Linked DNA regions of Homo sapiens: region 1 is linked to region 2. Evidence: promoter capture Hi-C in 16 types of primary human blood cells and fetal thymus (Javierre and others, 2016). All regions are on one chromosome and are shown on one strand. The core of a region is centred on a gene start or on the middle of the fragment in contact, and the rest is flanking DNA. Distances in the headings are between cores, read along the strand shown. Region 1 overlaps MYO3B (myosin IIIB). Region 2 holds the start of GAD1 (glutamate decarboxylase 1).

Region 1 (4,552 bases), core at 815-3,314, 540 kb after region 2:
ATGTTCACTTTTCTTAAACTAGAATTTCTCAAATACATTTGGGAATGCAACCTTCATAAATTGTCATTGTTATTATTGTTTTCAATTGGCGTGTTTAAATATCCTATGAAGCAATGTTTAAGTCTGAGAGATGCCTGCTCAGGAGAGTATAATCAATATTGTTTAAAGCTTTCAAATCAAATAGTTAGTAGTTAGGCAACAACATTAAATGGGGACCTAGCAGAAGCTGGAGCTCAGAAATACGGGCTTATTTCTTTCTGAACATAATATTTTGCTTTTATCAGTACTCAGAACTGGAAAGTAGAGAAATAGTACTTTCTATTTTGGCAACATTTTTGAATAATGTCAAGCAAGTCAAAAAGCAATATCATGTCCCATAATCAACATTTCTATTATCTGGATCCTATGGTCCCAGGAAAAAAGAAAAAGAATTGGGTAAAATGATGCAAAAAAAGTTAAAGATTTTTGATTAGGAAATTAATGTGTTGTAGAGAAAATATTATTTTACTTTGCGTTTTTTTCTTTTTTATTGCTTCTTTATTAGGTTAAGTTTATTAAGTTAAAATTTACATACAGTAAAAGTCACCTTTTTCAATGTAGAGTTCTGTGCATTTTGATAAGCACATAGAGTCATGGAATTATCACTAGAATCAAGATATAGAACATTTCCATCACTCCAAATAGTAGCTTCATGCCTCTGTAGTCAGTTCCCTCTCTTCCTCACACAACCCTATGCCTTTCAGGTTTTGACTCTACAGAATAATTTTCTGGGTGCCCTGCAGCATCTTTAGTGCCTACTGTTAGTTCACTCATCCAATATTTACCGAGCCTACTAAAAGTAGCCACTTTGCTATGTGGAACTGAGAACACAGTGAGTAGAATCCTTGTGCTAATCAAAGCTTTCCCGGTTGCACTGAAAAGAAACCTGCTTCAAAAAGCTTGAGTTAAAGGAGTTTTATTTAAGGATGCAAAGGGATAAAGCATTCCAATGAATCTGAGAACCCAAAATTACATTCAGACAGGCCTCAAGTAAAAAAGCTAGGAAGAGAAAAGAAAAAAGGCTGGAAATTTGGATTAATCCCTGGATATTATTGTCTCACCTACGTCTAACGTCAGCTTGGTCTCTGTCTTTCTCTCTCTCAGTGTCTCTCTCTCTCTCTCATTCTCTCTCCCTCCCTCTGTCTAAAGCCATCTTGGTCTCTCTCTCAGTCTTGATCTCTCTCTCTCTCTCTCTCGTAGTTTGCTTTGCCTATGCATCTGATATATGTCTAATATGGCCAGACCAGCCCAAACTCTTTCCAACTTTTCAGCTCATACACACATCACCGATTAAATGACTCTCTATGTCTCAGTTAAAATTTCCAAGAAAGGAAATCTGATTGGCCCAGCTCCACATCTATGGCTTCCCCAGGTGCCCCCCCACTGCCATTTAAAGTGGGGTCTCCAGGCCTCTCATTAATAGCCAGGGGCTAGGGAATTGCGGTCCTTTTGAGCCTGAAAATGTCTTATTCCAGGAATAAAGCAATTGTCACAAAAAAATATGTATTAGACCAACTTTATGTGATAATTACACGAGTCCAATCCTGCTTGACGGGTTTGAGGAAGGTTTCACCGAGGAAGTGACATATGAGCTGAGTTTTGAAGGATGGTCACCATGTAGATAGTGGCAGGTCCAAGGGGAATATGGAAGATGAAGTACGTGAGAGGAAGGAAGAAATGAGCATCCCAGGCAGATGATACAGTATGTGTTAAACATAAAGAACGATGAAAGACTATGTCTTCTTCAGAGACTTAATTTGATACGGCTGGAGAGCAGGATTCTTTAGGCAGACTCAAGAGAAAATAAGCAGGAACTAGAGTTTGAAAGACCTTCTAGGCTGTAACAAGAGATTTGAACTTCATCCTTTGGGCAGCTGTGGGCCATCCAGGGGTGTGAGGCAAGAGGAGGATTCTAGACTTATTGGGATAATATACAGCAAGGACCCAGGGTCTCAGCATTCTGAGATCCCTAGTTTCGCCTCCAGTTCCCAAGACAGAAATGCAGGTGGGTTGCTCCAGGCTAAATCACTTTTAATTATCAGTTGAGGCTTGGACCTCAAACCCCCACATGGTCACTGGGTGAGATGGGCCAGACTATAGATTGCTCAGAGCATCCTTTTGGCCTTGGCTCCGGGCTGAGTAGTCTCTTTGGATTCTTCCTGGAGATCCACTTTTGAATCTTGGCCCTCTTGATCTTAAGTCTCAAATGGCAAATACAGCTGATCCTAAGGGAAACACATATACACTACCCCACCCCAACCCATCTAAAAGAAAAAGGAGAAAGAGCAATTGACCCAATACTCCTTCCCATAATGGTTACTATCTTAGTCTGTTTTGTGCTGCTGTAACAGAATCCAGACATTGGTATCCACAAGCTAATACATTTTCTGTTCATTATACCAGAATAGTATTATGAGATGTACAAGATTGAGACGTACAAAACTGAAGGCTTAAGGATCTTGCTACATCGTCCCATGGCAAAGGGGCAAAGAAAGGGCAAAAGAAAAACAGAAAAGGGCCAAACTTGTCCTTTTATGAAGAACTCACTCTTACAATAATAGCATTAATACAGTCACTCCACCCTCATGGTCCAGTCACCTCTCATTATGCCCCACCTCCCAACACTGTTGACACGGGGGATTAAGTTCTCAACACATGGTTTTTGGGAGACACTCTCAAACCATGGTAGTTACCACTCCCACCTCTACCTGCCCTGTCACTACTGTGGTCTACTGCATTCATTGCCTTGGTCTACTCCTTGTGGGTGAGTAAACTGAAGGAGGAAAACTTGGGCTCCCTTTAGAGTGTTGAGTATTCCACTGGTGATGAGACAAAAATCAAAGGCCAACTGATGTGGGGAATGGATTGGACAGGTTAACTCTGGAAGTAGGGAGACCAGCTGGGGACTGCTCCAGTGGTCCAGACTGATGAGGGTTACACCAAGGCAGTAACAGAAGGGTTGGAAAGGAGCCATCCCAGGATTCTCAAGTTTGAGTGAGCCTCAGAAGCACCCACAGGGCTTGTTAAAACACAGATCACTGGTCCCCACTCCCAGTTTCTGATTCAGTCAGTCTAGGCTAGGGCCTGTGAATTTGCATTTCTAACATGTTCCCAAGTGATGCCGATGCTATCGGTTCAGAGACCAAGCTTTGAGAACCATTGGAATAGCCCATTTCCATGGGCCAAGTTAAAAAAAAAAAAAAGTTTCCCTTCTGTCACTATTTAGAAAGAGGGACATCACTGGGTTAGAAGCAGTAAGATGAAATGTAGAAATATAACAGTCCCTCACCAGTCAGCTGGCATCTGCAAGTTTACTAGATACAAAGAGCTATTTTCACATTATTATATACTGAAACCTGAATACAAATAGGCCACTAAAACCTACTAGTCCCCACCTCAAATTCTGAGACTACATTCAGAGTAACTTAAAAACAAAAGTCATTTTGGGAACATTTCCGAAGCCCACTATAGTATCAGTCAGTGCTGGGCATAAAGGAAGAATTCAGTAAATTTGGCTTGTTTGTGGTTAAAATTCTTATTATAACAATTAGCAATTTTCAGAATTCCTTAATAAGACCAGACAAGTAGCACTGATACATGCCTTCACAAGATAGCACAGTTTGAGGAGCTTCAGAGTTCATTGCATGTTAAAATCACCAGTTACAATGACTCTCAGCCATTAGGCCACGTTGTACTCTATGCACTGGGCCAGATTCCACACTTAGGCAAAGGCAGCTGATGGAGGAGGTTAAAAGCATCAAATATCAAAGTATCAACTTTGGTAGGCCACCTCCCTTCATAATTGAGACACTTCTGTTGGAGAGTTGAAAATATATTCTAGACAGATGACATGTTAACAGAGTCATTTCATGGTTCACCATTCTCTCAGTGTGATTTATTTATATCTGTAGGCACCAGAGGCCCCTATTCAAGAGATGTATGAGCTACCTATAAGATTCCATTTTGTTGAAGGAAATGTGTGTATTATTTAAAAACAAAATAACATTTATTTTAAGATTATGCTGCTTTCCAGTTAAAGGCTAAATGTTCACCACTTTAACATTCCCTGTGCCCCACCCATTTCTTTACTCCATTAACAAATACTAAAATAATACCTGAAGGGGAAAGGAAGAAGTCTTTCTCATTTCTGAACCCCTGGAAACCAGGTTACAAAACCTGCATGTGACTTCCAAAGTTGCTACTTAGTAGCAATCTTTACCGGCTCCAATTTCTATATCTGGCAAATAAATATAACTGCCTTTCAAGGTCTGAGAATTAACTTAGATAATAAATGTGGATATGCTTATAAACGGTGAAGTGTTACCCAACTCCATGGATGTGGAACTGGCTGTAGTGGTTGTTGGAATAAAATACTTTTCTTCCTTTATCTCATATTTACCATCCAAATTCAACTACAAAAGGCTTATGAAACACACAGTGAAAAGGGCCAAATGTTTAAGTTCATGCAATGGCTAGCCATCGGTTGTAGCTCCCTTGTTGAGTACTCTTCTTC
Region 2 (4,553 bases), core at 1,993-4,492:
AAAGAAATCCATCAAGGCGAAAGCACCACACAAAGGCGCGCAGGCCTCGCGTTCCTCCCGCCCTGCCCTGGCCAGCTCCAACGCCGGTGCCTGGTTCATATGCTACCAGGGCTGGCGACTCTCCCGAGGCCCTCTTTGTTGTGTGGGTAATTGTATCCCTCCTGGGTGGCGGGAAGAGGGAGCTGCAAAGGAAATTGGAATGAGACCTGAGGACTTAACACGAGACCTCCTGCCCGGGAGCCAATGCCAGCGTCTAAAGGGGCTTTCCGGTAATAATCCCCACTTCATTGATGAGGATACTTATTTTCTCAAATATAAAGTGCCATAAAAGCGCATCAATAAGCACTCCCTGTAACCACACTATCCTTCTTAAGCCCTTTCTGTATACAAATTCTGGAAATTCATACAATTAATTACATCTCAGAAATAAATAAATGGGGGAGTGGGAACACTTACAGTCTGAAGCTGATAAGTTTTTTTAGGGGGGTGGGGTCAGGAGACACTTCTTCACTCCAACAAGGAAAAAGAAAAACAATTTTCTCATCTCAAGCCTTTACAGAGGTAGGAAATAAAATTAAAGATAGATTCTGGAAATGGGTTGAGGAGCCTGTCGCACTTAAGACAGGGAAGCATAAATCCTCCCCCCTCTTTTATCTGGTGTCTCTTTTCTTTCTCTCTTTTCGGGACATGTCACCTCCTGACAGATCTCTTGCCTGGGATAAGGAGAGAGGTGCTCTCTCCTCTCTATGATAAAGCTTCTTGCCCCCTCCCAGTTCCCCATCTCTTGCCACTCAGGATGCCGCCCGCTCCCCTATTTATTTATTTATTTATTTATTTCTCTGAGATGTAATTAATTGTATGAAATGTCAAGGCTCAGTCTCAGTTTTATGCACCTTTCCCGCCCCTGACTTCTCCCTAACTCGTCAATAGCTTGATGCAAATTTGGAGCAATTAGGGACCTTGAGTTTTCTAAAAGCTGCAATTAACGTCGAAATTTCCGCTGATTATAGACTTTGAACACAGCCCAGGGGGAAAGGAGGAGGTCAGATCTTGGCTCAACGAAAGCCGGGGACTGAAAACTCTTATTCCTGCTGGGGCTCCTAGCTCTTCATTCCGCCCCCTGCGCTGACCCCTGTCGTCCCACGGAGCAAAGAAACCACACACAACAGAATAAAAACAACACCCTGGCTGCGCGCCCCTCCTCCTCCGCGAAGCCCTCAACGATCGCCGCTGCTCGGACCTTGCGTGGTCCTCGCTTTCCGGTGCCCTGGGAGTCACCTAGCGTCCCTGACAGCCGAATGACCTCTGGCAGGGACGGGGTCAGAGCCCCATTTATTTCCCAGCCTCCATTATCTCCGCGCTCCCCCTTCCCTTTCCGCCAGCTCAGCCTCCCGACGTCCCAGCGCCCCCATCTTCCCTGCAGTTCATTTGATAGAAAATTGGGGCGGGACCTACTTGTGGGGCGCAGGTTAGTGGTATTGGGGTCCGCTCCCGCGTTCGAGGAGGTTGCGGACGAAGATGGGGTCGAAGACGCCATCAGCTCGGTCGTCCCGGGGCCTCTACTGTCCAGAGTCCTCGACTGGTCCGGCGCAGAAACAGGCTGCAAAGAGAAGCGAGAGCTGTGCGGGGAGGACTTCCGGGGTCCTGCACACCGGAGGGACTGAGCAGCCGGGGGCACGGAGGCTCCCCTTGAAGATCCGGCTCTGGAGAGACAAGAGGGAGGAAAGGCAGCGAGCCTGCCTGGTAGGGGTGCGCAGGGGTGGGGGCAGCGGAGGAGACGTGCGCGCTAGCTCCGGTACTGGGGCGCAGGGAGCGTAGCCCTGGGCCGCTCTCGAGTCTGGCGGTGCATCGGCGCGACCTGGAGTGAAGCGCCGAGACGAGGCGGGGTCGGGGTCGGGGTGGGGGTCCAAGGCCAGTACAAGACGCAAGGGTGTGGGGGACTAGGCTAGGAGCACAGGGGAGCGCTCAGTGAGCGATTTTCCAGCCGAGCCGCTACAAGCCCCATTGGGCACTCAGCAGCCGGCGTGTGGGCCAGCGGGGGGAGGGCGCACGGGGCGGGCATGTCTGGTTCGGTGTCTGGTTCCCGTTGTTGTGTCTGGCTAATTCCCTGGAAAGAAAGAGGCTAACTGCTCCGGGGACTAGGGACTTTGGTGAGACAAGGTGAGAGGGGGAAAAAGGCCCATATCTTTACGTTCTCCCTCGGACTTGGCCAGAGAAGAACCACAGTCACCTTGCACTCCAGACAGCCAGAAAGCAGCGAGTCGGAATGTTGCTTGCCTCCCTCTTATCCCAGCCGGTTTTTAGCCATCGCTAAGCCTAGGGCGAGGTTTCGGTCCGGTTTCAGCGTTTCTCCTCTACCTAGCCCCCTGAGGACCCCAGATTTCTCGCGGTACAGATCCAGAGAGGGTGGGGTAAGTAAGCATGGGGAACGTCACCGGGGAAACGAACTTGCGCGCAGCGCGCAGGAGGCGGCGGACAAAGATCTTGCGCGGCGCCCCTGCTCGACTCTCGGCGCTGGCGCGATGGCGCCCGAAGGCCCCGGGACAGAGAGATTGCGGGCTAATCTGGGTAGATCGAGGACCCCACAGAGAAGGGCCCACCGGCCATCGCCTCCACACCCTCCCTCCGACCTCACTCCTAGCCCCGCGCGCGCAGTCGCACAGCAACTCGGGCAGCGGGTCGACTACGGCCCCTGGAAAAGTAACAGGTTACCGTTCCTAGTAGCGCCTTCGGCTGCTGCTGCCCAGGCGCCCTTTGGAGGGACAGGCGCTCGCAGCATGGAAGCTCAAGGGAAAATCGCTCTTGCCCCACTTCAACTAGAGCCTCAGCCTCCGTGCTTCCCCGGGGCGTGAATCCGGAGGGCAGGGATAAGAAGAGTGACGAGGGAGGCGGGGGGGGGGGGGTCCCTGCGCAGCGCACCCGTGGAGAGCAGGGACTAGGGCGGGCAGGAAGCACTCATTTCGGGAGGTTGGGTGGCCGGCGCTGGGATGGGGTTGGTTGAGAAGCCGCGGGAGGAGAGGACCTGGCTGAAAAGCCACGGTTGGGCGCTGGGAAGTCCAGGTGGTCGCTAGCTTACCCACCTCGGCTCTGCGACAGCGAGCCGGGCACTCCCGCCTTTCCTCTGCACAGCGCCCAGCGATCCGCTCGGCTCGGCCCTGACAGGCGTAATCTGCCCGGCGTCACCTCCAGCTGCTTCCTCGTTCTCGCTAGTTCCCTCTCGCACGCGAGCGCCAGGAGAAGAGAGAGATTCGGAGAGGCGGCTGCACGGCTCCGGGGTAGGCGGGGGCAGAGTGGGGAGGCGGGGACCGGATCGGCGGGGAAATCACGAGGCCGTTGCTCGCGGGGGCAGCTAGTCGGCGGAGCGGCGGGGCTCCTCTGCAGGTGCCTGACCGCCTCTGGAGCTTTATAGGGCGATTATAAATCCAGCTCACGGTTTTGCGCCCGGAAGGAAAAAAAAAAGGTCTTATGAGTAATCCAGAACGTACTCAACACGCTTTTTTTTTTTCCTTTGGAAATAGGCAGGCTGTCGGGTGAGAGGAGGGAAAAGATAATTCCTACGAAGAATTCTGCCTTTCTGAGCGTTTCTTCTTCCCTCCCCTCCTTTCCCCTCTCCCATTTCCCCTCCCCCTCCCATATATTGTAGGAGACGAGCGGCGGTTTTGCCTCAGTGCTTTTCCCCGGGGTTCCCCCAGATCTGTGACCCTGCGACGCTTCCTTGAGCGAAAGCGCGCTTTGGGTCGTGTCCTCGTTGGCTCTCTACGGAGCTGGGATTGTTGTAACCGCAAAGGAGGCAGAAATGAGGGGAGACCTCTTAGACCATGGAGGAATTACAGTTTCCTCATCCAGCCCTGGGCCCCATCAAAGTACCACACCTGGCCACAGCTACCCAGTGCCACCGGCAGAGAAAAGGACCCCGCGTCCCTTTTGCTATGCGCTCGCTCCTCGCTTTGGCCCCCTTGGTGATGGGAAAAGAAGGCCTCCTGATTAATCACGTTTGAAGGTTGATGACACGCACGAGCGCCGCTGCACGCGCATGGGGCACCCGAGCACAGAGGTGCCCGGAAGGGGCGGACCAGCCCCCCTTGCCCTGGCCCGCTCCCCCTTCGATTTCACGCGCTTTAAGGATTCTCCCTTTGCAATATTTAGGCGTAGTTAAAAGAACCGCTGCGTTGGGAGAAGCCCCTCGCCGTAAAAATGCGTTGAAAGAGAAATTCCCACCAGAGGGCGCCAAGAGCCCAGAGACGGAGAGGCCCTGCGCTCCCGGGTCTCTCCGCCAGCGCCCGAGCGGAGCCCACACCTGGAGCTGCTGGCCAGACGGTTACGCGCCGGCTTGCCTCTTCATGCCTTCCCTCACCGCCCTGTCACTAGTTTAAGTTCTCCCCTTTCTTCTCCCCCAGTTTTTTTCTTTAGGGCAAAAATGTTGATGTCTGTGCGTGTCTGGGTGACACCGTGTAGGCAGTGATTCCTTTACTGGTATTTACCGTGGTCCTCCCCCTCTCCCCAGGTGGTGCAGCACGCAGGGGTTATTTATGCGCACGTCTGGGGCCTCACTG

The links. Contacts are between HindIII fragments. The CHiCAGO score rates a contact against its expected background, and 5 or more counts as called.
Region 1: a contact is called between a fragment that was not itself captured here and the fragment with the promoter of GAD1 in region 2, in 1 of 17 cell types (megakaryocytes). The highest score is 5.5, in megakaryocytes.

Annotation. Positions count from the first base shown.
Region 1 is chr2:170,270,773-170,275,324 of GRCh38, reverse strand. All of the region lies in intron 7 of MYO3B (myosin IIIB), which reads right to left. Among named protein-coding and RNA genes, the nearest start is that of MYO3B-AS1, 78 kb to the left of the region's middle. The HindIII fragment of the contact is 2,248 bases long and covers 941-3,188 here.
Region 2 is chr2:170,815,576-170,820,128 of GRCh38, reverse strand. It overlaps GAD1 (glutamate decarboxylase 1), which reads right to left and starts at 3,242. Exons shown (of 17, transcript NM_000817.3): 1 at 3,081-3,242; 2 at 1,456-1,600. The coding sequence starts at 1,537. It overlaps GAD1-AS1 (GAD1 antisense RNA 1), which reads left to right and starts at 1,478. Exons shown (of 4, transcript NR_197761.1): 1 at 1,478-1,743; 2 at 2,214-2,411; 3 at 3,097-3,275; 4 at 3,644-4,553. RefSeq lists enhancers at 805-1,327, 1,328-1,851, 3,091-3,260 and a silencer at 3,348-3,427. The HindIII fragment of the contact is 11,655 bases long and covers 758-4,553 here.